4 separate regions of the Homo sapiens genome follow, and all the other regions are linked to region 4. Evidence: promoter capture Hi-C in 16 types of primary human blood cells and fetal thymus (Javierre and others, 2016). All regions are on one chromosome and are shown on one strand. The core of a region is centred on a gene start or on the middle of the fragment in contact, and the rest is flanking DNA. Distances in the headings are between cores, read along the strand shown. Region 1 overlaps MECP2 (methyl-CpG binding protein 2). Region 2 overlaps MECP2 (methyl-CpG binding protein 2). Region 3 overlaps MECP2 (methyl-CpG binding protein 2). Region 4 holds the start of BCAP31 (B cell receptor associated protein 31).

Region 1 (6,700 bases), core at 684-3,183, 320 kb before region 4:
ATGCAGAGAAGCCTCCTTGATTCCGTAATTCTGCAGCTAATACTGGAAGTAGAAAGAATTGGAAACACCATCTGGATGACACTTTAGGGTGGAAGCAGCCAGTACAAGGGGGGGCTCATTATTTCCTCTGGTCCCAGACTGTTCACCTGGAGCTGTAGCCACCACCCTGCCCTTAGGTTAACTGCCTCGAGTGGTAGTTTAGCTCTTTGTGCTGTGCCGAGGGATAACTGGAAGTGAAAGGTGCTGAGAAATGCCATCTCCTGAAAGTGGCGAGCATGAGTGAATTTACGAAAGGTTGGGATATTGCTGGGGCTCTGGAAGTTTCTCTGGAGCTCACTCCAGGGGACAGGGAGGGGGCTGGATTCCAATTCAAGTGAAAAATACCTTTCATCTGCCTTGTTCACCTGGCTTTTTTGCCTTTTTGTAAAATCTGAAAACCTCAGGGATTGAGTAGTCTTTCCTTAACTGCAGTTGCCTGTCTGGCCACACCTGCCAGCTGTTGCTTGTACCCCTGTAATTTGCACGGCCTTCCGGGCCTTTCTCACAAGATCACTGCAGGTCACATTCATGAGGAAAATGCAGGCAGTTCCTGCCATCAGACCCCTCAGGATGTCATGGTTTGGCCTGAAAACAAGATTCCTGCAACTCTAATTTTCCTTTGCTAGATCAAATGAAGGATTTGATCTAATGTTTGCATTCTAGCAGCAAAATCATTGAATATTTTATTTCTTAAGAGCCTTACTTCATATTTTGTAGGTATTTTAAGATTTTGTAAAGGCCTTTCTGCTTCAACGTGTGATGTGTGCATTCTTAGAAAAAGATCTTGTGTTCTGTAAATCACACAATAAAAACATGAGTTCGTGCAGGAAAAACTGGGGCGGGGTGGATCACTCCAAACTTGTGTGGTGTGGTAACTGGAGCTCACTGATGAAACCATGAACAGTTCTGGCTGAAAGAACCCCACAGTACACTGAGGTCTGTTGGCATCGCCGCCAGCACCGCCCCGGTCCCTTTGTGCGCGCCACCACACCTGGCTAATTTTTTATTTTTAGTAGAGAGGGGGTTTCACCATGTTGGTCAGGATGGCCTCGAACTGACCTCGTGATCCGCCCACCTCAGCCTCCCAAAGTGCTGGGATTACAGGTGTGAGCCTCCGTGCCCAGCCTTCAGCTTTTTTTCTTAATGTCTTTGTGTAATATGAAGGCATTCTCTTTAATTGTTAAAAAGCTTGCCTACCACTGCTTCAAAATATTACTGTCAGTTGGCATAGCTTCTGATTATATTGATGTCATCTCCCTTCTTTTAAACATGTTACCATATTGGCACTGTATTTCCCCTAGCCCATTGATCACTTGAGAGTTAGTCATAGTCCTCGTGCTGTTTCACTCCTAAACGTTTAAGCATGCCTTTCCTAAGAGCAGACAGTACAGTTAAGACACTCAGGAAGTTTAGCAATGAGCTAACACAGAACCTTACATTTCTCCACATACCCCATAAATGCCTTTTTTAGAGCCTTTGAGCCTGGAATGCAGAGTCCAGGACTGTGTGTTGTATTCGATTGTGTCATCCCTTCAGTCTCCTTTATCAGAAATGTTCCCCCACCCCCTTGTTTTCTCTCATCATCTTGAGTCCAGACCGTGGTTGCATGGCACGCCCTCTCTGGACTCTTCCTGCTGTCTCCTCACGGTAAGCTTCAGTCTCCTACTCGTGATGCTGGTTCATCTCAGCAGCACTGAGGGGCCTGAGCTCAGTTTGGTCGTGTGTTAAGGTGGTGCCTGCCAGATTTCTCCACAGAAAAGGGCCCCGTACTTTTATTTGCTCTTCAGCCTGTGTATTCCTTCCTTTCTTGCCAGCTTGTGGGTGGCTTCTCTAGCAGCTTCTGTAAGATACTCAGTTTGGCAGTTGTAGTTGTTTCAGCAGGAGAGGTGTCTGCATACCTGACCACCACATGGCTAGAAGTCGATCCATCCTCTGGCGTAACCATCCTCCATGCTACTGTCCCTGGGGCACTGAGGCCCTCCTCAGTGACTTCCTCCACCTCATCTTCCGCCATCTCCAAGCCACCAGTGTCCAACGGACTACTGATATGTCCCAAACTCATCATTTGTTTATTCACCAATTCAGAGCCCACCTTTTTTTCAGCACTGAGCTAGCCTCTCCTTGCTAGAAGCTTACGGTCGAAGGTCTCCAGCCATCAGAAGAAGCACGTGGAGCGCTGCGTCCGTGTTGTGGTTATTCATCCAGCATGTGTTGAGTAAGGGTTGCACCTGTGCCTGGCATTATGCATTGAGCGGGGAGATGGGGGTTGGCACGCACAGTGGGGTGTTCTAAGTACACTGAGGGCTCGGGTGCCCTGGCTCATAGAGCAGGGAGGGAGGCAGGAGCAGGGAAGGTGTCTCAGAAGTGCCATCTTTTTTTTTTTTTTTTTGGGAAGTGGAATCTTGTTCTATCGCCTGGTCTGGAGTGCAATGGCACTATCTCAACTCACTGCAGCCTCCGCCTCCCAGGTTCAAGCGATTCTCATGCCTCAGTCCCCGAGTAGCTGGGACCACAGGCGCACACCACCACACCCGGCAAATATTTTGTATTTTTAGTAGAGGCGGAGTTTTGCCATGTTGGCCAGGCTGGTCTTAAACTCCTGGCCTCAAGTGATCTGCTCACCTCGGCCTCCTAAGGTGTTGGGATTACAGGCATGAGCCACTGCGCCCGGTCTAGAAGTGCCATCCTAACTGAACCTGAAAGATGAAAGTTCTCCAGATGAACCTGAAAGTTCTCCAAATGAAAAGGTGGGAGGGGGTGACAGGGTTAGGCCCAGAGCCTCTGGTGACACAGGGTGGGCATCATTGGTCACTTTTTCCTCGAGGGAGGGGCGTCACACGGGTGATAGGGTGGGAGCTATAACCATGTTGATAGTGCCGCCTCTGCCCATCTGGCCTGGCATGCCCTGAGCCCTCTGTCCCACCTGTGGAACTCATAAGCCCTGACAGCCCACTCACTCCTGATTCATTATCCACACCCCTGTGCTTCCGCTGTGCCTGGAGCAAGCTTTCTTCAGGGGGAAGGGAGGCTGGAACTATGTTGTAGTTACCTATTTGTCCTCCCTTCCAAACTGTGAGTTCTTGGAGGTGGAAGGATGCTGCAGGATCTGGCTCAGGACGAAGGCAGTTGGTGAACAGACACGTGTGTTTTTGACTCACGGTGATCTCAGACAAGTTCCTCTGTCTAGTCGAACTTCTTTTTTTCCATCTGTAACACTCAGGAGTTGAATAGGTGGTTTTTCTGAGGATACTTCAACTGTAAAATGTATGAACTTGTGAACTAGCTATTTAGTTCTCCTCATAATCAAGATTGTGTGTGTGTGGGGGGTTCTGATTAGAGGGAGGATGAAGAGAGGTGTATGGGGTTTTTTTTGTTTTGTTTTCTGTTTGTTTGTTTGTTTTTGAGATGGAGTCTCACTCTGTCACCCAGGCTGGAGTGCAGTGGCACGATTTCGGTTCACTGCAACCTCTGCCTCCTGGGTTCAAGTGATTCTCCTGCCTCAGCCTCCTGAGTAACTGGGATTACAGGCATGCACCACCATGCCCAGCTAATTTTTGTATTTTTAATAGAGATGGGGTTTTCGCCATGTTGGCCAGGCTGGTCTCGAACTCCTGACCTCAGGTGATCCACCTGCCTCGGCCTCCCAAAGTGCTGGGATTATAGGCATGAGCCACCACACCTGGCAGGTTTCTTTGAAAAAGTTTGTGTTTCGGCAAACACCATAAACCCCCTGGGGGACAGCCTTGGGGAGTCACCTGGCACCCTAGCCCAGCCTCCCTCCCTTGGGTCCTGCAGTGAAGGCTTAGTGAGGGTGTGCAAATGCCCAGGTCACCCTGGGACTGGGCAGGCCCTCTGGGCTAAGGGTAAACTCATTTGGAATACCTGTTTTCTATCATTGTTTTTTATTTGTTAAATTTAAAGGGTACAAGTGCAGTTTTGTTGCGTGGATATATTGTATAGTAGTGAAGTCTGAGCTTTCAGTGTAACCATCACCTGAATAGTGGACATTGTACCCGTTAAGTAATGTCTCATCCCTCACCCCCTCCCACCCTTCCCAGTCTCTCCAGTGTCTGCCATTCCTCACTCTGTCCATGTGCACATGCTATTCAGCTCCTGCTTCTAAGTGAGAACGTACGGTATTTGACTTTCTGTGTCTGAGCTGTGTCACTGAAGACAATGGACTCCAGCTCCATCCACGTTTTTTATCATTTTTACCTGCACTCCACACCCAGCACAATCCAGGCTTCTTTGTGGGTTTTTTGAAATTTGTCTTTAATTATAAAAGTAGCAGCCAGCAAATTAACAAACACCCATGTGCCTTTCATTGCACAGAATTGAAAATCATCATACTATATTTGCTTCAAGTAATTTCCATTAGAAAGAACTAGAATATTACAGTAGAGTTAAAGACCCTTTATTTCCCATCTTCAGTGCTCTTAAAAGTTCATTTAGGGCCAGGCATGGTGGCTCACACCTATAATCCCAGCACTTTGAGAGGCCCAGGTGGGTGGATCACCTGAGGTCAGGAGTTCAAGACCAGCCTGGCCAACATGGCGAAACCCCATCTCTACTAAAAATACAAAAATTAGCTGGGCGTGGTGGTGCGCATCTGTAATCTCAGCTACTCGGGAGGCTGAGGCAGGAGAATCGCTTGAACTCAGGAGGGAGGCAGAGCCTGTATGCAGTAAGCCGAGATTGCGCCACCACACCCCAGCATGGGTGACAGAGCAAGACTCCGTCTCAAAAAAAAAAAAAAAAAAGTTCATTCATTGTACACTTAGAAATAGTTAAAAAGGTAAACTTTGTTTTGTGTGTGTGTGTATATATATATATATATATATATATATATATATATATATATATGTATTTTTTTTTGAGACATATATGTGTCTGGTTTGTTCGCCCAGGCAGGAGTGCAGTGGCATGATCAACGGCTCACTGCAGCCTCAACTTCCTAGGCTCAAGTGATCCTCCTGCCTCAGCCTCCCGAGTAGCTAGGATTACAGGCACACACCACCATGCCCAGCTAATTTTTTTTTTTTTTTTTTTTTTTTGTAGAGACAGGGTTTTGCTATGTTGCCCAGGCTGGTCTCAAACTCCTGAGCTCAAGCGATCCACCTGCCTCACCTCCCAAAGTGCTGGGATTACAAGTGTAAGCCACCACACCTGACCTGTTTTGTATATTTTACCACAATAAAAAGCCTTTAAAACCCCAAGCAGACAGTTCATTTTCATTCAGGCCCAACTCAGAATCTGATCACAGCGGGGTTTCCCCCCTTTCTAGCGAGTAGCTGAAGAACTGTTTTCTCTCCTTGATGGTATAACTGTCTCTGTGGGTGTTGCTCCCCTGCCGCTCCAGTGGTTTTGTTTTTGTTTTTGTTTTTTTGAGACGGAGTCTTGCGATCTCAGCTCACTGCGACCTCTGCCTCCTGGGTTCAGGCGATTCTTCTCCCTCAGCCTTCCATGTAGCTGGGACTTACAGGCACCTGCCACCACGCCCGGCTCATTTTTGTATTTTTAGTAGAGACGGAGTTTCACCATGTTGGCCAGGTTGGGCTCGAACTCCAGACCTCAGGTGATCCACCTGCCTCAGCCTCCCACAGTGCTGGGATTACAGGTGAGAGCCACTGCACCCAGCCGGCCCCTCAGTCTTTTCCTTCTCAATCAGTGGCACCACCATCTTCCCAGGCTTTGGACATGGTCCCTGACTCACCCTTGCCCCTCACCCCCACACTAATCCACCTGCGAGCTCTGTTGCTTCACCACCTAGACCAGCCCCAAATCCTCAACTGCCCCCACCCTGGGCCACACCTGGACCACTGCTAGAGGCCTCTCATGGGCCCTCCCTGTTTTTCTCTTGCACTCCCCGGGCTTTCTGGCACAAGATGCCCCAGAAGCAGAATCACATATCTCTCCTGGGAGCCAATCTAGTGTGTTTACTGCCCCTGGAGTGTTATTGTTGGCCTTAGAATATGTCCCACTACAGGTTTGCAGAGCACTGTAGTCAAAAGTCATTTGAAATAAATCTTTTCTCTGTGGTATATTGTCAATTTGATATAGAATTAAATTTGTTTCTTTTCTTTTTTCTTTTCTTTTTTTTTTTTTTTAAGAGACAGGGTCTTGGCCAGGCGTGGTGTCTCATGCCTGTAATCCCGGCACTTTGGGAAGCCAAGGTGGGTGGATCGCCTGAGGTCAGGAATTCAAGACCAACCTGGCCAGCATGGTGAAACCCCGTCTCTGCTAAAAATACAAAAATTAGCCGGGCGTGATGGCAGGTACCTGTAATCCCAGCTACTCGGGAAGCTGAGGCAGGAGAAGGCTTGAACTCAGGAGTCGGAGGTTGCAGTGAGCCAAGATCACGCCATGGCACTCTAGCAAGACTCTGTCTCAAAAAAAAAAAAAGAGAGAGAGAGAGACAGGGTCTTGCTCTGTCACTCAGGCTGGAGTGCAGTGATGTAGTCATGGCTCACTGCAGCCTCATACTCCTGACCTCAGGTGATCGACCCGCCTCGGCCTCCCAAAGTGCTGGGATCGTAGGCTGAAGCCACCATGCCTGGCCCGAACTCATTTGTTTTTATTTGCATTAAGTGTAATAAGGTTTTGTTACTTTTAGTTTGAATTTTATTTTGGGTAATATAAACATTTACATGATTCAGAAGTC
Region 2 (6,071 bases), core at 2,473-4,972, 370 kb before region 4:
TAAGAGCAGCTTGTTCTCAAGCTGCCCGAGTTATCTTGGAGGAGAGAATCACAGGAAATGTTTGATATTTCTAGTAACCAGTGTTTTCAGTGCGTGGGGTAAAGCACACTCCTAGACTGGCCAGTCCCAAAGAGTGTGGCAGGACACCTGCTTGTTTTCCCTGCCCTCTGCTATGGTGACATCCTTGCAGACCAGTCTTGCGTGGCTGGCAGACGCAATCTTTTTTTCTTGGGTAGAGCATTATCACCGCTGCGATGGAAGGACCTTGTCCTCGGTGCCTCCATACCAGCCCTTTCCAGTGAAACTACTGCTGTCCCGGCAAGCCCCTGTGCGTGTGCATCATTCCGGGTAGGACAAGATGTGAACAGGTCCCTCTTCTTTGGGCTTAAGTAGAAGTTGTGCTCTTCTGCTTTTACCTGTGTGCTCTTCTGCTTTTACCTGTTCTCTTCTGCCTTTCTCTTGCAAGAAACCTGTCGAAAGCTTGCTTTGCATGCCATTGCTTAAATACTTTGATGGTATGTATGGTATGTGGGATAACTGAGTGGGAGCCGGAATTGGGGGGTGGGCAGGGCATCCCCACCCCCACCCCCACATCAAAGGGGGAATGACCATTTCGTTAGAGAATAAAGCCTGAGTCTTATAACTTCTTCAAGCACATGTATGCTGGGTCTCCTGGCGTGTGAATGTGTTCCCGCTGTGCTGTGTGGCTGTTTTGCAGTTACTGTAGACACTGTAGTCTGGGCTCTCATTATTGCCTCTGAAGTTGACAGGACCAAGCCTTAGTAAGGATGCACTTGTCTTCCTAGCCCAAGAGCTAGGGGTGTTTTATATATATATTAACTTTCTTTTTTAGATTTCATAAACTGCTCTCATTTTCTCTTTTCTTTCTTTCTTTTTTTTTTTTTTTTTTTGAGACAGTCTCACTCTGTCACCCATGCTGGAGTGCAGTGGCACGATCTCAGCTCACTGCAACCTCTGCCTCCCGGGCTCAAGCAGTTCTCTGCCTCAGCCTCCCAAGTAGCTGGGATTACAGGCACCTGCCACCACGCCTGGCTAATTTTTGTATTTTTTTTTTTTTTTTTTTTTTTTTTTAGTCGAGACGGGGTTTCACCATCTTGGCCACGCTGGTCTTGAACTCCTGACCTCGTGATCCACCCGCTTCAGCCTCCCAAAGTGCAGGGATTACAGGCGTGAGCCACCGCACCCAGCCTCTGGCTCTTTTCTTTTTGACATGAAATCTTAAGTTAATTATCTTAAACTTTAAGAACTAGAAGGATTCTTAGTCCAGCACCATCAGTTTACAAACAAAAAAAACTTGTGTCCCTGAGAAGTTGTGACTTTTCCAGGGCCTCCTAGCCAGGATACCAGTTTGGTTTTTATTATATAGCTAGCCGAGTAATACTATTAACTTGACTTCTGGGATTTCAAAGTATTCTATGACTTGACTGTTTAAGGGAATTATGAGGCCTCACTGAACCTCAAAAGATAATTTTAGGTACCATCCTGGTAGCTGTAGAGCAGCAACAGACCAGTAAAAGACTTGGTTGGTGTTGCCCTTCTTCTGGGTTTGATTACATGAGTAATTGTGTGAATAGTCTCTAAGTTGTATGCTCTGAGCTTTCGTTTTTAGCTTATAAAAGTGCTACTCTTGGGCCAGCATAGTATCAGAAATTAGCTAATTCATATGGGGCAGTTTAGGCTTTAACTAGGAAATGATGGTTATCTTAATGACAAAAAAGGTACTGACAAAAGTCCTTTTTTGAACATGTGTTCAAAAGAAAAAGAGAAACTATCAAACTAATAACTGAGTTTGTTGAACATCGAGATTGACTGATCTGAGAGGCTTAAAACTGATTGCCCTGAAATAGACTTGCATGTTTTGGATGATGGCTTTGGGTCTCCCAGAGCACTTGGTTTCCCTTGGTGCTGATTTTTTCTCTCAGGATTAAAGCCCCTTTATGTGATGTTGTTACAGCAGCTTATTGCAACTTCATTCAGCTGCTTGAAAAAGAAGGGAGACTGCCTCTAGGTTCCATGTGTTCTTTCAGGGATGGTATTTTGATGTTGCGTATTCTCTTGAACATGTATTCTTCCCTGAGAATTTCTGTGTGCCGTGGTAGAAGAAATACTTGCCAGAAATCGCCACTCATGGTATGCTTTTGTAGTGTCGAAGTGTCCCCTAGAGGTGACAAGGCTTGTGATAGTGTTGATTCTAACAAGCATGAATCTTTCCTTTATTTTAGCACTGTGTGTTACGTGCCAGTAATTTGCAGCTTATCCTTTGTTTCTAGCTAGGTAAGCTGGGAAATAGCCTAGTACTTTGTCTATGTGTTTATCTTCAAAATGTCCCAAATAGCCCTGGGAAAAAGGTCGTGCAGCTCAATGGGGGCTTTCAACTTACAATTTTCTTTGTTTTAGGCTCCATAAAAATACAGACTCACCAGTTCCTGCTTTGATGTGACATGTGACTCCCCAGAATACACCTTGCTTCTGTAGACCAGCTCCAACAGGATTCCATGGTAGCTGGGATGTTAGGGCTCAGGTAAGTAACCTTCCTTTTTTTTTTTTTAGTATATGTCCTGGTTTGGCCATCTGTTTTTTTTTTTTTTAAAAAAAAAAAAAAAAGGAAAAGAGGAAAAAAATATACTACTCTTGGACAGTATAAAAGTACCCCAAAGACTAAAGACATAACTGTGCCAAACTGTGCCATATAATAAAAAAAAGTCACTTCCCTGAGCCCTGAAAGGTCAGTGTGTGTAGGGTTACTTGGTCGCCACAGCGTGATCTGGGGGCGGGCGTCAGATTAGAGCCGGAACTGGTGATCTGCAACTTCAGTTCACCTTGAAGCAGGTCAGCTGAGCTGAGAGCGCTTGCACTGAGCCCTTTTGCGCTGCTGCTGTTGCCTTAGCGGTCTTCAGCATGTGTTTGCTTTGGTTTGGGGTAAATGGCTTAGTGGTCAACATTAGTGAGCAGTGGTAATGCATTTTCAGATATGGGAACTGGTATGTGGTTGGTTCCCTAGAAGGACACCCTCCTGAAAGCTGTCTCAGAACACCGGGGGCCATGGCTAATGTCATGTGCTTGCTACACTCCTCCCATGGTAACTAAAGAGAGTACCCAGATATACATCTGGTTCTTGGGACTCTAGAGGAGGATGAGTACTTTGTAAAAACCTGGGGGCCCCAGTCATTCTAGGTCTGACACTCAGGTGCTGTATCAGCTGCAGTTTGAACTACTTGGCACCATTGTGTGGACTTTAGTTTTGTAAAAATGAATGGTTCCTTAATTTCTCAACCTTCAGGCTCAACATCTCAAGCTGTTTGTTGTTGTTGTTGTTGTTGTTGTTTTGTTTTGTCTTTTTGATTAGTGGTCACTCCGCATTTGATGTTTTGACATGTGGATTTCAGAACTTCTGTGTGGTAAAGCAGAATGTTCCAATTGAATTTTCCCATTTTTTTTCCCCTAAGCAAAAATGTGAGTTTTCACTTATGCGGCCATTGTGATTCCGACTGAGACCCTAAGTCGTTCTTTGTTGTCTCTCTAGTGGTTTCTGACACCTCAGTGTGAAGCTGTTGTAGACATCCATAAGAAATAGCCTGCTTAGGGATTATGTGAGGGCAAGGTTTGGCTGAAGGAGAATAGAAGGTGTGGAAGGAAGCGGAAGACCAGAAGAGCATCACACTGCCTCAAGTCCCAAATTTGATTCTGCTCCTGATCCTGTGACTCAAATTGTCATTCTCTTTTACTGCTGTGGGGTGTGCTCTGGGCCCAGCTGACAGGACATTCTTTGTACTCCACGTATTTATGCTGGTGGGAGTTGTATGGCTAGTGCTTTGTGCTTTGTCTCAGAAATTGTGTGGACTAAATGTAATATGGGCAGTGAATGGGTTTCTTCTGGAAGATGTTAGGCCTGGAGGGTGGTTTGGGTTTTTACGAGTCTTTTTCTCAGATTACAGATTACGAATGGATGTTATAAAACAGGCAGTGTTGACACCATACAGTTTCTCCTAAGAAATGTACAGAGAGTTCAACCTGAGGAAGCTAATTGAAAATAAACTTTTAAAAAGAAATGTAGAAAGAGGAAATTTAAAAAGTATCTTATGAATGGGAAAGATGTAGCCATTTGAGCTTCAAAGAACTTTTGAGGGAATTCTCAAAGGACAGTACCCGTCTTTAGTAGATAAATGCTTGATATCTATTTTTCTTCTTTTACTTTTTAAAGAATTACTAAAATAATACATGGATTTATAGAAAAATCAAACCACTTAAAAATTGATCAGGTGGCTGGGCAAGGTGGCTCATGCCTGTAATCACAGCGCTTTGGGAGGCCTAGGCGGGTGGATCACCTGAAGTCAGGAGTTCGAGACCAGCCTGGCTAACACGGCGAAACCCCATCTCTATTAAAAATACAAAAATTAGCTGGCCATGGTGGCTTGAGCGTGTAGTCCCAGCTACTCGGAAGGCTGAGGCAGGAGAATCACTTGAACCTGGGAGGCGGAGGTTGCAGTGAGCCAAGATCACACCACTGAACTCCTGCCTGGGTGACAGAGTGAGACTCGGTCTCAAAAAAAAAAAAAAAAAAAAGTATCAGGTAAAAAAATGAAAGCTCCCCGCTTAATCTCTGCTCCCACTACCCAGAATAACTGCTGTTAATAGCTTAATGTAGATCCTTCTAAGTCTTCTAAGACTAAACTGTGTACTTTTTGTGTTGTAATTAACAGGAGGGTTTTTGTTTTGTTTTGTTTTTTCTTTTTTTGAGATGGAGTCTTGCTCTGTCATCCAGGCTGGAGTACAGTGGCACAATCTTGGCTCACTGCAACCTCCACCTCCTGGGTTCAAGTGATTCTCCTGCCTCAGCCTCCTGAGTAGCTGGGATTACAGGCGCCTGCCACCACACCCAGCTAATTTTTGTATTTTTAGTAGAGATGGGTTTCACCATGTTGGCCAGGCTGGTGTCGAACTCCTGACCTCAGGCGATCCACCTGCCTTGGCCTCCCAAAGTGCTGGGATTACAGGCGTGAGCCACCGTGCCTGGCCTCAGGATGGTGTTATATATACATATTCTGCATTTTTCCATCTCATATATTCATCTCTGCCTCATTTCTTTTAAATAGCAGTGTAGTCCAGGGCTGACTTACCGTCATGCATTTCGTTGTCTCTCTATGTTATTAAAAATGCTACAGGATTGAAATTCCTCATGTGCCAGTCATTTTGAAGAATGGCTGCCTAGACTTGGAATTTCTGGTGGATACCACCACATCACTGTCCAAAATGGCTATCCCAGTTCCCACAACAGTCTGAGAAAGTGCCATTTTCCCATATCGTCCCAGAATTGGATATACATCTTTTAAATTGGTGCCGCTTGGATTATTACTGAGGCTAAACCTCAATAATCATTGTCATAGCTCTTAATGTATTAAAGATGTTAACTCTTTGTCATGCAGATATTTTCCTGTTTTGTCTTACGTCTTGATTCTTGTCTTTCTGATATATAAAATTTATGTTATGATTTATTCTTTTGCTTTCATACTTAGGAAATCCTTTTTTACTCTTTTTTTTTTTTTTTTTTTTTTTTTTGAGACGGAGTCTCGCTCTGTCGCCCAGGTTGGAGTGCAATGGCGTGATCTTGGCTCACTGCAAGCTCCATCTCCCGGGTTCATTCCATTCTCCTGCCTCAGCCTCCCGAGTAGCTGGGACTACAGGCGCCCGCCACCACGCCTGGCTAATTTTTTTGTATTTGTGAGACAGGGTTTCACCATGTTAGCCAGGCTGGTCTCGATCTCCTGACCTTGTGATCCGCCCGTCTCTGCCTCCCAAAGTGCTGGGATTACAGGCGTGAGCCACCGCGCCCCGCCAGGAAATCCTTTCCTACTCTTAACAACAGATCAATAGTCATCTATATTTTCTTCCTAAAAAACCTGATGATGTATTATATTCATACATACGTATTTAATACATACAAAAGGGCCAGATGCGGTGGCTCATGCCTGTAATCCCAGCACTTTGGGAGGCTGAGGCGGGTGGATCACCTGAGGTCAAGAGTTCAAGACCAGCCTGGCCAAGATGGTGAA
Region 3 (6,259 bases), core at 2,621-5,120, 330 kb before region 4:
GTTTTCCTTTACCAGCAAGACTCCAGTCCCTGTCTCCACACCCTCTTCAACCTTCTCCAGTTGTTCCTTTGCTGCCACAGCTCTGCCAAGCTGCTCCATGAGGTCTCCAGTGATGACCTTCATGTTGTTAAATCTGGGAGCTGCTTGTCACTTCTTTTCCCAGAGCTGTCGTCGTCAGTTAACCCCAATACCCATACGAGACAATCCTTTCCCTCCCTTGAGTCTCTGCACTGATGTGCACCTTCTCAGTGCAAACCACAGCTTTTGTCTCTTTCTAGCTGAATACATGACTGACTGTGCTTATCTTAGCTGTCACCCCTGCTGGAGCAGAAGCTCCACAGGACAGGATTGTCTCCTTGATTCACAGATGTAGCTCAAGCTCCTAGAACAGTGCCTGGTGTCTGTGGGTCCTCAGGAAGTCCTAGGTGAGTGTGTGAATGTCTGTCCTCCTCGGTCTTTTCTGTTTCGCATGTGATGTTGGAAGGCCTCAGGTTCAGGCTTTTCTTCTCCACCCTCACTCCCGAAGTGATTCCGTCCAGCCTCATGGCTCCCAAATTTATGTCTCCAGGCTGACTGGGTCACGGGAACTCCTTATCCTCCCTAGACCTTCTCTTTCCCTGGTCTTCTCCTTTCCAGTAAACAGCAACTCCAACTCCTGCTCCTCAGGCCAGAAACCTGGCGCTGGTTACCTCATTTGTTCACAAATACTGTTACTCCACCTGCAAGATGGATACAAAATCTCATGAGTTCCCCTGCCTCCATGGCCCCCACCCTGGTCCAGGTGTCCAGCTTCCCTGCCTCTGCCCTTGCCCCCTGGTTCTTTGTTTAGTCCTGCAATATTGTGCTCTTCTGTTCAGAACCCTCCAGTGGGTCCCTGCTTGCTCAGAGTCACAGCCCAACAGGATCACCTCTCTTGCCACTCTCCCACCACTCATGCACTGCGGCCTCACTGGCCTCCTGGCTCCTCCCTGGACCCTCCAAGTATGCCCCTGCCTCAAGGCCTTGACCTCTCCTCTGCCCTCTGTCCCAGGTATCACACATGTCTGCTCAAGTGTCACCTTCCCAATGTGGCCTTCCCCGAGCACACCCATGTCTGTAAGTCAGGCAGCCTGCCTCTGCCCCACCAGTTCCCCCTGCCTAGCATAGGACTTGTCACCATCTGCCACAAGCTGTGTTACTGCTTGGTTTTGTTTGTGCTCTCCCACTCCCTTCCCCTCCCTCCCTCTCCCCACCCCTATAGAATCTGAGTCCCATGAGGACAGAGATTTTTTTTTTTGCCTCTTCCTCAATATATCCCCAGTGCCTAGAATCATGCATATTTTAATTTATTGAGTGAATTAACAAATAAATTCTGCAGTGGGACATTGCTCTAAGGTTTTGTCTTATAAGAGGGACAGAAGAACATGCAGCCTGCTCTGCTGTTGGCTCCTTAGCTTCTCCATGGCTAACAGGAACAATATTGTTTATGAGATAATCAAAGCCATAGTCATGAGTTAGAAGGTACATATAAAGGCAAATATGTGGAGATTGAGTTACTTTGGCGGGGGCGGAGGGGTGTGTAGTTATCTGAAAACATGGAACAAATCAATGAGAGTCTAAATAGCACCCACATATTTGCCCCTCTTTTAAAACATACCTCCTTTATGAGTGTAGAATTTAACAGCACAGTTTCCCAGTGCAGCTTTGCGAAACAAGAGAAATGAATTTTAAAGGCTGTCAGGTGCCTTTGCAATCTGTGGCTTAGTATTTGTGTAACAACATTTGTGTTTTGCCAACAGATGTACTGCTTAAAGTACCCATGAGAATGGCCTCTGTGGTTTTCTACTTTCTCGGATGGAACCTTAGGAACTGATTATTGAGAAGAGGCTGATACTGCCCACCTCAGCTCCCAGGCAGGCTTCAGGGCCTTGGTTACTACTCCTTTGGGCCCTCACTGACCCTTGCAGACGTCTTTTGCAACCTCTGTAGCCAGAAGAGACAACTGCTTTCTGGCATGTTGCTCTTTCCCTAATGGCTTTATGAGCTTCTTGAACACCAAAGCATGTGTGACTTCCTCACGCCTTCCCCTGTATAGTATAGCACCCCTAACTGTATGTGTAAGGAGAAGGAGTGAGCAATTGATGGCGTCCCCCTGGATCTCCAAGGGAATGGGAAGGGGCAGGGTTTCTGGATTCAGTCATGTGGAATCTGGTCGTTGGTGTCTAAATGTGCCTGTTACTTGTGCCCAATGTCCAGGTTCACCAGGAGGCTTAGCCTGCTCATTTCCCTGCTAGTAGCTATATTTTGGGAGAGCATTTTTTATGCTCTAATTGAACTTTGTGGGTCTCAGCAATTTGAACAATGTTTTGTTTTTCTTCTGGTCAGGTTACAAAGGAAAGAAAAGGAATCTGGTGTTGTAGGAGGTGGTGTGTTGTGTAATTACTTGTTTTTTTTTTTTAAGTTTTTTTATATTTTTGCAACAAGGCAAGTTTTCTTTGAATAAATAATGCTGGGAGCTTATCACATAGAAGGCATATGTGTTGTACTCAGTACATTCTGAATTATCTGGGTTTATTTTTATCTCTTGAATTCACTTATAAACAATTCAAAGGCTGCTTTTTTAGCTAACAGAAATAGGAAGAGAATCTCAGAATCTGTTTTGTCATTTTTTCAATGGGTTGAGTTATAGTGATTATGCTAACTCGGTGGAAAAGCAGTGTAGTGAGTAAACCCCACATACGGCATATCATGAACATTTTGTTGCTTTTTTGGCTTCTGACCATCTTCATACCTTTTTTTGTGTTAAAAGTCTCCCCATTGTGTATATCTTAGTAAGAGGCAGGTGGACCCTAGTTTCTACCTAAGAAAACCTGAAGATGGGGTTGGGGGCCTGTGGTGTACTTCCTTCTCATGCTGTCCATGACCACTGCAGTGGCTTTGTAAGGATCCAGGACCCAGGGCCCCTCAGTGGGTGTCTTCCATTTCTCAAGATTGCCTCTTGGTTGTGAGATGACGGTTGCTGCTCTAGTCATTGCATCCACTCCTCCAGGTAGGAAGAAAGAGGTCATAGGGGAAAGGCAAAATGGCACTTGACATCTTAACTTCTAGGCCCATTCAATATTTCCATTTCCATCTTCACACCCATCATCTTGTCCTAGGGAACAAACAGCACCAGCAGCTCAGTAGCTATAACAGCAATTATTATTTCTCACACATGGGTCTGGGTCAGCTGCAAGATGGGATTCAGATCTGTTCTCAAGCCTGTCGTTCCAGGACCCAGGAGGGAGAAGCAGCTGCCAGGGGAAGTCTCTTCGTAGGCGGAGGTCAGGAGTCCAAGAGGAGTGAGCAGAGTCACAGAAGCCTCTTAAAGCCTCTTCTTCCCCCATCCCATCAACACGTGAGCAAGCCCAGAGTCAGTGGGTGGGAGGTGTGCTCCGCCCATAGTCAGTAGAACAAGAGCAAGCTTGAAAGAGAACGATGAACAGGAGTGCACTCGGCCACTGTCTCCTTAGCCATAACGTAGTCCCATGGTCTGCTGGGAAGCGGGGAATAACTCTCCTTAGCTGAGCGCAGGGTCTCATTAGTAAGGCAGATGGAGAACATGGATGTTGGGGGACAACTGGCAGTGCCTGCCACAGGGGAATGGATATATTCCCTCCCCTTGCTCTCTGGAAACTAGGGGATGGCGATGAAGCCTAGGTTTGGCCAAACCCATTCTGCCTTCAGGGACTTTGACTCTTGAGGGACAGTGAGGGATTAGTCATGGTGGTGGCAGTTGAGTCACAAAACCAGCAGTGGTGGCTAATGTCCAGTGATGACATGCAACAGTGCCCAGGGTGGGTGTCCCAACCAGCAGGTCCCTGCAGTATAACCTTGGCTGTGTTTGCAGTGGTGCAGCCTCTATTCCTGCTGCTTTTCTGAGCCTAGTTCTCTAGTTCTCTCTCCATTTCCAGATCTGCTGCCCAAGAACTCCTTTGTGATTGAATTTAACCAGAGTTGATTTCTGTTGCTTGAAACTCAGGACCTTGATGCAGTGTGCAGGGTCTGGGCAAGGTAAAAACACACTTTCATGATTTCGCCTCAAGTATAGTAGATGAGCTTAGGCTTTTTGAGCCAGGTAGCCTTGGGATTAATTCTCAGCTCTTGCACCTAGCAGGTGACCTCAGCAATCAAGTCACTTGCCCTCCTTGAGCCTCAGTGTTGCCCTCAGTTAAACATTGCTCTCGTGTGTTGCTGAGCATTCAGTGAGATTGTATATAAAGTGATCATTGTGAAGGTATTGGGACATAATTTGGGAAAGCGTCCTGGTCTAAGCTTTTGATTGGCTCTCCATCATTTGGGTAATGGGATAGTGATTTAGGAGTATCATAGCAGCTCAAGGGGCCCTTCTGGAAAGGGTATGAGGAAGGTCAGGGACAAGTCTGAAATGAATCATCCTAGGCTTAATGCCTGTGACTGGGCAGTGGGTACAATTATCTCAGGCTAGTCAGTAGTCATTTATTGTGAGAATACATGGGCAGATTTTTTAATTTCCTTCTCAGTCTAGACTTGAATGCAAACAGTTCTTATTGCTAACTTACCACTAGTCACCACTAATGAACAAAGACTATGAACAGGAAATTCATAAAAGAAGAGATACAGATGGCCAATGAAGATAGGAAAAGAGTTCTGCCTGCTGGTAATCAAAGAGATGCAAACGAGAACAAAAATGATGCCTTTTCACCTACCAAATTTGTCAAGATTAAAAAGAAAGCAAAGAGCCAGCGTCAGCTGATGTTCATACCTGCACCTGCTCGGTAGCTTGCTAATGTTCTGCCTGCTCCACACGCCAGGCCAGCCTCCACGGCGCAGCCAGGTGAGGCCTTTCCTTGTATACAGGCACGTTTGGATTCACTGTTGCATAAGTGAGACATGTGCATGCTTCACAATTCAGGAAGTGCAAACTCCAGAGTGATGCAAGGTCTGAGTGTCCCTGCTGCCCTGGTCTCCCAGCTGCCTAGGCCTCTCTTCAGGGAACGGCTGCATCCAGGGTCTTGTCTGTGTCTTTTGAGGTGTTCTATGTACACGCAGACACATCTAAACCTATTTTTATTTTCCCTGCACCTGCTTGGGCTACTGTAAGCTGTTAAATTTTTTTTTCTAGGAATTTGTCCATTTTGTCTGACTAGCATAAAGTTGTTCATGTTATAGTTTATACATTTGCAACATCTGTAATTATGTCTGCTTTTTCATTCCTAGTGTTTGTTGTTTACTTGTACCTTCTCCCGTTTTTCCTTGTCTTGGTAAAAGCTCATTAGGTTCATTGGTCTTACAAGAAGCAGACATGTAGGCATTATTGCCCTGTATTACTCTGTGTCTCTTTTCTAGTTCATTAAATTCTGCTTTTGCTTTTATCTTTATTATTTTTTCTATGGTCTTAGAGTACATTCTCTGTGTTTTGTTGTTGTTGTTGTTGTTGTTTGTTTTTTGTTTTGAGAGAGAGAGTCTTGCTCTGTCGCCCAGGCTGGAGTGCAGTAGTGCAATCTCAGCTCACTGCAACCTCCACCTCCTGGGTTCAAGTGATTCTCGTGCCTCAACCTCCCGAGTAGCTGAGATTTACAGGCATTTGCCCCACACCCGGCAAATTTTTTGTATTTTTAGTAGAGATGGGGTTTTGGCATGTTGACCAGGCGGGTCTCGAACTGCTGACGCCAGGTGCTCCACCCGCCTTGGCCTCCCAAAGTGCTGGGATTACAGGCATGAGCCACCACGCCTGGCCCTAACTTCTTAAGTTATAAATTTGGTTCATTGATTTTTCTACCCTTTTTTCAAATGTAAACATTTAAGGCTAACCCTCTGGAACTACTTCAACTGTATCTAGCAAGTTCTGATAGTATTGTCACTTTAAGTTAGCCCAAAGATATTTTAAATTTTCTTTGTTTCTTCCTTTGACTCACATATTATTTTAAAATGTGTTTTTCAATTTCCAAGCACATGGCTTTGGGTTTGTTTTTTTTTTTTCCTAGTTGCTCTAGAAAAAAAAATTGACTGCATGAGGTGGCTCATGCCTGTAATCCCAGCACTTTGGGAGGCCGAGGCGGGCAGATCACCTGAGGTCAGGAGTTCGAGACCAGCCTGGCCAACATGCCAAAACCTCGTCTCTACTAAAAATACAAAATTAGCCGGGCATGGTGGCACACACCTGTAGTTCCAGCTACTCGGGAGGCTGAGGCAGGAGAATCACTTGAACCGGGAGGCAGTGGTCACAGTGAGCCAAGATTGTGCCAGTGTACTCCAGCCT
Region 4 (6,911 bases), core at 1-2,500:
GGACGATGCAGCGGGCCAGCCTTCCGTCCAGGCGGGCCACATACACCGACAGGAAGGTGCGGCTCACCAAGGCGGCCGAGTGCAGGGCCAGCAGCCCCGTCTCCCGGCACAGGACCCGGGGGAACAGCAGCCGCAGGAGCCACAGGAGCCGCTGCAGGAATACCCGGTTCATGCCAGCTTTGGCCGCCGCGACCCCGGAGGCCTCCTGCGTGGGCTCCCCGGCGGGCGCCTGAAGACCCCTGGCCGGGGCCAGGCACTGGCGCACCAAGGGGTAGACTTTGTGGGCTCCATAGGCCGCGAGGGCCAGGAGCACGGCCGTGCGCTTCAGCGTGTTCCCCCGCCAGGGCCGGGGCCTGGAGAGCACCGGCATGTCACCTGGGCTGGCTGCCGCGTAGGGACTGGGGCTGGTGCCTGGGGCAGCAGTTGAGGCAGGTGGCTGGAAGGATTGTTGCTCTGACCCTGGGCCTGTTGTCTAGGCAACTGGAAACCTTGCGATGGCCCCTGAGACTGTCGCTTTAGGCCCCCGGGGTGGTGCTGGGGCCCCTGGTGCGGTGGGCTCAGGGCCCTCCAGGGTCGCGGCCTCTTCGGGCAGCCCAAGTGGAGGAACTTGGCTCTCCTGTCCTGTCAGTGCCCTGGCCCCTGAGGTCAGGGCCTTGAGAGGTCTCGGGCAGAGGGGGCGTCTCTTCCTCTCCACCTTCTCCTCCTCCTCCTCCCCCGGTGGCGCCCCTCCCCGGGGCACCAGGCGCGTCCGTCCGCTCCGCAGCCTGGCTGAAGCGACAGTGACTCCTCCACCGGCCCAGAATCCCCACCCACTCTTCCCCAGGGGCGAGTCGGGGGAAGGGGAGGAGGCGGAGGAGGGGCGAGGGGCGGAGTCCGGGCGCGGGAGCCCCACCCTGTTCTCGCCCCTCGGCGGGGCCCGCCCACACCCCCACCTCCCGTTCTCGCCCCTCGGCGGGGCCCCTCCCGCACCACAGAGACGTGGGACGGCCGCGCGGACTAGAGAAGCGGCCCTCGCCGGCCCGACAAAGCCCCGCCCCGCCCCGCCCGCGTGCTCGCTCCACCCCGCCCTGCTCGCCCGGAGCCCGAGGCGCCTCTTCCTCTCCCGCTCGGAGCGCCGGCCCTCCGCTCCGGGGCGGGGTGGGAAGCGGAGGTGGGCGGAGCCTCCGGGGCCTCGCGAGGGCTGGTGGGCGGTGCCCGGCGGGCGCTTCCGGTTTCCGGCCGCGGTATGAGGGGCGGGGCCGGGGCTGCTGTGGGAGAGTTCTGTTGCTGCGGCGGGGCCTGCACGTTGACTGTGGGAAACTCGGTGAGCGGGCTCCGCGCGCCGGGCTGGGCTCCGGGACCGCGGAGGCTCCCCGGCCCATCGACGAGGGAGAGAGGCGAGCGGCGCGGGGAGGCCCGGGGGCCGGGGAATCTCGGGGCCCGCAGCCTACCTGCGTGTGAGAGGCAGGGGCGAGGGGAAACCGGGCGGCGCCTCTAGAAGCTGGTCTCGGGGGCGGGGCGGGGGGCGGTGAAGCCCCACCTGGAGGAGCGGCCGGGATGGGCCTCCGGGACGGTGTGCCAGGCCGGGGCCAAGTCGGAGGCCCCTCGCTCTGGGTGGGCGCTGGGGCCCGCGAGGGCTACTGTAAGGACCCCTGGCTTCTGAGGATACTGCGTCTAGAACTTTCTCCGTATGGGGCCTTGAGGTGCTTGGTCGAGACCTGCCTTTGCGCTTGGTCCCGAATCCTGCCCTCTAGGAGTCGCTCTTGCGGGCCTCCAGCCCACCGGAGGCGAAGCGGCCCCGGGCGGAAGGCCGCTGGATCCTCGAGGGAGGTGCCGGTTTCTCTCCGCGGGCGCCGTGGGGACGGTGGGAGGCGGGGGCGTCGGCAGCGCTTGGACTAGGTGCGGCCTTGGGCCTGCCTGGTAGCGGGGATTTGGGCCCGCAGAGCGCCCGCCTCTGCGGCTGAGTTCTGCCTGGCGGGGAAGGGAGCGCCCGATGGGTGCCGAGGCGTCCTCCTCTTGGTGCCCTGGCACTGCTCTTCCCGAAGAACGCCTTTCAGTTAAACGGGCGTCGGAAATCTCGGGCTTCCTGGGGCAGGGATCGTCGGGAGAGGCCGCTCTGGACGTGTTGACACACGTGCTGGAGGGGGCAGGTAATTGACCAGCGAACGGAAGTTTGTGGGGCCTGTGAACGCTGCTGGCCAAGAGGCCCTGCCGAGTGGAGCCCTGCTTCCGCCAGCGCATCAGAGACTTTGAAGCAAAGTGCAGGGGGTCAGGGTGGAGAGTGGCGGCCCCAGCCTCGCAGGGTAACTGAACTGGATGTTCTTGGCTGCCCAGCGCTTACAAGTCCCGTACCTTTTGTGCCCTGCCAGGAAACAAGCTCACATCTTCCTGTGGGAAACCTTCTAGCAACAGGATGAGTCTGCAGTGGACTGCAGTTGCCACCTTCCTCTATGCGGAGGTCTTTGTTGTGTTGCTTCTCTGCATTCCCTTCATTTCTCCTAAAAGGTATGGCCTATGGAGCAAGCAGGCGAGTTAGGCAGGAGGGTGCCTGTGCCCTAGCCCTGGGACTGGTGTGTGCAGCTGGTGGACCCTGGAATTGGGACCCGATGGAACAGGTAGAACCTGTCTGGGGTGGGGGTGGCAGGGGTTGTGTTTGTTATTGCCAACCCTTCCCAGGGTTCTGCTTCGTCATGACTTGCTCAGTTCCTTTTCCTGTGTCCCCTGCCTTCTGGTCTTCAGAATGCCCCCGAGAGGCAGGAAGATCTATGTTACAGTTCTGGAAATGATGCCCTCCCACCCACTCTTGGTCCACGGGGTGCTGGGATGGTAGCGTGGGATTCGGAAGACTTGCACCACTGGGTCACGTTGTTGCTGATTTGGTGACTCTTGTCCTCCTAACTAGTCTCACTGGTATTGCGCAGTGGCTGCATGAACATTACTCAGCCTGTGGAGGATGAAGCCATATTCCCTTTTAATGAACAGAGGACCTGTTAAAAGTGAATTGGAGATTAATTTTAATTATGTATAATACCTGAACACATCCCTATTTAAATTACGATATTACAAATAAGGCCAAATCTCCACAGGTATTTTTAAAAGCCGTTTTTTCGTGAAAAATTATCTTTGATGTGATACCATAGAAAGTATGCAGTGCTGTCTGAGGAGGATTCTTGTAGAAAACCACACCTTCGTACAGTTGACAAGACGTGCAGAGATAGAGGGCCCCGGGGAGCTTTAATCTGGGAAGCTTTAGAGGACAGACAATCTGATTTCTACACAAAGGAAACTGGAAAAGCAAATGAAAGAGGGAGAGGGAAGGGGGAGCTTCCAGAATAAGCTGGATTTAAGACGTTTATCTACCGAATGCCAAATCGGTACCTTGTTGGGTCCGGATTCAAACAAATATCATTGCCTTCAGTGATTGGCATATTCAACTCTAGCCCTGATGATGAGGGCTTCTTGTTGATTTGAACAATATGTAAACACTTCTGAAGTCTCTTCTTAGAGCTGCATCCCAAAGCATTTGTGGATGGAAATGATGTGAGGTCTGGGGTCCATCTCATCATAACAGGGTCGGGGGATATAGACAAACCAAGGTTTATCATGTGGAAAGACAGTTTAAAGAAATAACGTGTATGGGGCAAACATTTGAATATTACAAAGGGGAGTACAATGAAAAGTAAGTTTCCCTTTTCAGAGACTACCAGTATGTTTTCTTTTTGTTGTTGTGGTTTTTTTGTTTGTTTTTGTTTTTATTTTGAGACAGAGTCTTGCTCTGTCACCCAGGCTGGAGTGCAGTGGTGTGGTGCTCGGCTGACAGCAGCCTCCACCTCCCGGGTTCAAGCAATTCTCCTGCCTCAGCCTCACGAGTAGCTGGGACTACAGGTGCCTGCCAACATGCCCAGCTAATTTTTTTTTATATATATATTTTTAGTAGAGATGGGAGTTCACCATGTTGGCCAGGCCGGTCTTGAACTTCTGACCTCAGGTGATCTGCCCATCTCAGCCTCCCAAAGTGCTGGGTTTACAGACGTGAGCCAGTGCGCCCAGCCAACTGCCCACGTTTAAGATTAGTTTTCCAGGCTGGGCGCGGTGGCTTACACCTCTGCACTCCAGCCTGGGCAACAGAGCAAGACTCTGTCTCAAAAAAAAAAAAAAAAGATTAGTTTTCCAGACATTTTGATCTATACGTGGACCAGCATCTTTTTTTTTTTTTTTTTTTGAGACAAGGTCTCGCTCTGTCACCCAGGCTGGAGTGCAGTGGCGCGATCTCGGCTCACTGCAACTTCCGCCTCCCAGGTTCAAGTGATTCTCCTGCCTCACCCTCCTGAGTAGCTGGGATTACAGGTGCCCACCACCACGCCTGGCTAATTTTCGTACTTTTAGTAGAGACAGGGTTTCGCCATGTTGGCCAGTTTGGTCTTGCACTCCTGACCTCAAGTGATCCACCCACCTTGGTCTCCCAAAGTGCTGAGATTACAGGTGTGAGCCATTGCACCTGGCCTTTTTTCCAATAGTCTTGAATGGATGTCAAATTAGAGAATTGCAAGCCACTGAGGCTGACTTTGCATGGGCTATTCGGCCATTGGAGAAGAGTACAAAGCTGGATTTCCATTTTGCTCAGGGCCCTAGAGCTCGTGTGTGTGCTTTCTCTTCAACTCCTGTCCTTTTTGTCTTCTTCACAGATGGCAGAAGATTTTCAAGTCCCGGCTGGTGGAGTTGTTAGTGTCCTATGGCAACACCTTCTTTGTGGTTCTCATTGTCATCCTTGTGCTGTTGGTCATCGGTGAGTGAGCTATGGCTGAGGGCAGCTACCTGACCTAGACCCTGGTCTCTGCTGCAAAACCCTTTGCCACTTTTGATGTGTAGCATCCAGTTTTGGCTGCTAGGAGACAGACCAATGAAATGCTGTGTCTTTCTCTTGAGGGAGGGAAGAGGCTCCCTTTGCCCATGCTGCTGACCGCTAGTCGGTTCTTCACTTTGAGGCCCCTCTAGGCCGTACATGGTGGCTCATGCCTGTAATCCCAGCACTTTGGGAGGCTGAGGTCGGTGGATCACCTGAGATGAGGAGTTCGAGATCAGCCTGGCCAACGTGGTGAAACCCCATCTCTACGAAAAATACAAAATTAGCTGGGCGTGGTGGCGGGCACCTGTAATCCCAGCTACTTGGGAGACTGAGGCAGGAGAATTGCTTGAACCCACGAGGCAGAGGTTGCAGTGAGCCTAAATCGCACCATTGCACTCCAGCCTGGGCAACAAGAGGGAGACTCCATCTCAAAAAAAAAAAAAAGAGGCCCCTCTAGCAGTGGGCGTGGGCTTATACCAAGCAGTTTGTATGCAGCTTATGACGGCCACCTTACATTGCTTTTTTTCAAGACCTTGGAAGGAGGGACGCCTAAGGTTTCTGAGGCTGCTCCTCAGGTCACTCTAGAACTGAAGCCAAGAGAAGCTAACTGGCCTGTGACCTTGGTCTGAGTAGTGCTGCTCACCAGTCACTTAAACAGCAGAATTGCCTGGAGCAGGGCCTCTAATGGGGGACTGAGCAACCAAGCACACAGTGAAGTCCTGCCATTCCCTGTAGTAGTAGGAGGAGAACACAGAGATGTGTGGCAGCATATCTTGGGGAGAGATCCTAGACCTCTCTGCATCTGGGCTAGACTTGAGGTTTTCCCAGGTCGTTCCAGCTCTGTAGTTCTGTAAACTCTGACATTGAGGTGTACACTAGCAGGTGCTTGAAAGATAAACTGGTCCAAGGGCAAGCAGGCTCTGGGATAAGGCCAGGCCAGGTGGTGGTAAGATGAAAGGCAGACATTTTGCAATGAGGTGGTAGGGTGACCATCTGGAGACAAGAATCAATAAAGCTCTTGTCTGACTGGTAGATGTTTGTTGTTTTGCTGTGGTAAGTGATCGATATGTCCCCCTGTTTGGGCTCCAAAGTATTGGCTTGGCTCTGCTGTGGACACCACTCTTGTCTCAGAGCTGTGGTGCCTGCCTAGGCGTGGAACACTCCTCCCACCGAGTCCCAGCAGAAACACTGAGCGGGTGGGGGGCTGTGGTTCAGGGGAATGTGCAAAGCCTCACCCACCAGCTTCAGCATTAGGCATTTCTCCTTCCTGATGTCTCAGAGCCTGATAGGATATGTTCAGGCTGGACTGCCTCTGAACAGGCCAAGTGTTACCTGACAGCTTCCAACCACATAGGGTAGGTGCCAGCTGCCTGAGCACCTCAGTGTTCTTGAAATACTTGGCAAGGCCCCAAGAGGTAGTAGCTCTTTCTAACCAGGGTTCTCGCCCTGAGCAGCCTCCAAGCCAGGAGTAGGTAGGTAATATATGTGTCATCCCCAGGCCACTGAGTTTTTGAACTGAGCATGTGTGTTTTGGCTTTTGGGTCTGGGGTGGGGGTAATAACTGGGGAGGGGAGGGACCATGCTGAGGATGATTCCCTCAGGGTCTTGCCCCTTCCCCAAACCAGAAGGAGTATGTTTCTTTCCTAGAGCAGCTGAGTGGGCTGGAGAGATCCTTTGCGGAATCCAGTAGTTGACAAAGCCTTCATTCTTTTTTGGGATCGGGGAACTGCTTGGAAGTTCTAGGGGGACATATGGCCATGATGACTGGCTGCTTCCTACTCCCATGTTAAGAAGCATAATCTAGAAAGATCTGCAGAGCCTTCTTCAAACAGAAGTGTTAGTCACAGGTACTAGTGAAGGGTAAGGGGCATAACTAGCTAGAGCTGTGGCCTTGCTTGGGGGTGGGGAGGGTTGAGCAGATCCTCCTGGAGGATGGAGTTGCTGAGGGTGCAGGATCTTCCCACCTGGGCTGAGGCCCGAGACAGGGAGGGCTGGTTTCTACTGTGGGACTTGGGTTAGTATTGCTCAGTCCCCCATCCCCACTATTGGTCATTGGCCAAGGTGGTCCTTAGGATGGTGGGGTTCC

The links. The method cuts DNA at HindIII sites, captures the fragments that hold promoters and counts their contacts. A CHiCAGO score of 5 or more calls a contact.
Region 1: a fragment that was not itself captured here is called in contact with the fragment with the promoter of BCAP31 in region 4 in 1 of 17 cell types (M0 macrophages); the score reaches 5.1 in M0 macrophages.
Region 2: a contact is called between a fragment that was not itself captured here and the fragment with the promoter of BCAP31 in region 4, in 2 of 17 cell types (M0 macrophages and fetal thymus). The highest score is 6.1, in M0 macrophages.
Region 3: a fragment that was not itself captured here is called in contact with the fragment with the promoter of BCAP31 in region 4 in 1 of 17 cell types (naive B cells); the score reaches 5.5 in naive B cells.

Annotation. Positions count from the first base shown.
Region 1 is chrX:154,035,346-154,042,045 of GRCh38, reverse strand. All of the region lies in intron 1 of MECP2 (methyl-CpG binding protein 2), which reads left to right. Among named protein-coding and RNA genes, the nearest start is that of MIR718, 19 kb to the right of the region's middle. RefSeq lists enhancers at 498-998, 5,577-6,142. The HindIII fragment of the contact is 479 bases long and covers 1,694-2,172 here.
Region 2 is chrX:154,088,655-154,094,725 of GRCh38, reverse strand. All of the region lies in intron 1 of MECP2 (methyl-CpG binding protein 2), which reads left to right. Among named protein-coding and RNA genes, the nearest start is that of MECP2, 6.0 kb to the left of the region's middle. The HindIII fragment of the contact is 6,480 bases long and covers 483-6,071 here.
Region 3 is chrX:154,055,516-154,061,774 of GRCh38, reverse strand. All of the region lies in intron 1 of MECP2 (methyl-CpG binding protein 2), which reads left to right. Among named protein-coding and RNA genes, the nearest start is that of MIR718, 39 kb to the right of the region's middle. The HindIII fragment of the contact is 851 bases long and covers 3,445-4,295 here.
Region 4 is chrX:153,718,726-153,725,636 of GRCh38, reverse strand. BCAP31 (B cell receptor associated protein 31) reads left to right here and starts at 1,250. Exons shown (of 8, transcript NM_001256447.2): 1 at 1,250-1,303; 2 at 2,349-2,484; 3 at 4,665-4,765. The coding sequence starts at 2,393. It overlaps ABCD1 (ATP binding cassette subfamily D member 1), which reads right to left and starts at 781. Exons shown (of 10, transcript NM_000033.4): 1 at 1-781. The coding sequence starts at 370. RefSeq lists an enhancer at 1-161 and silencers at 622-1,581, 1,792-1,971. The HindIII fragment of the contact is 9,880 bases long and covers 1-3,228 here.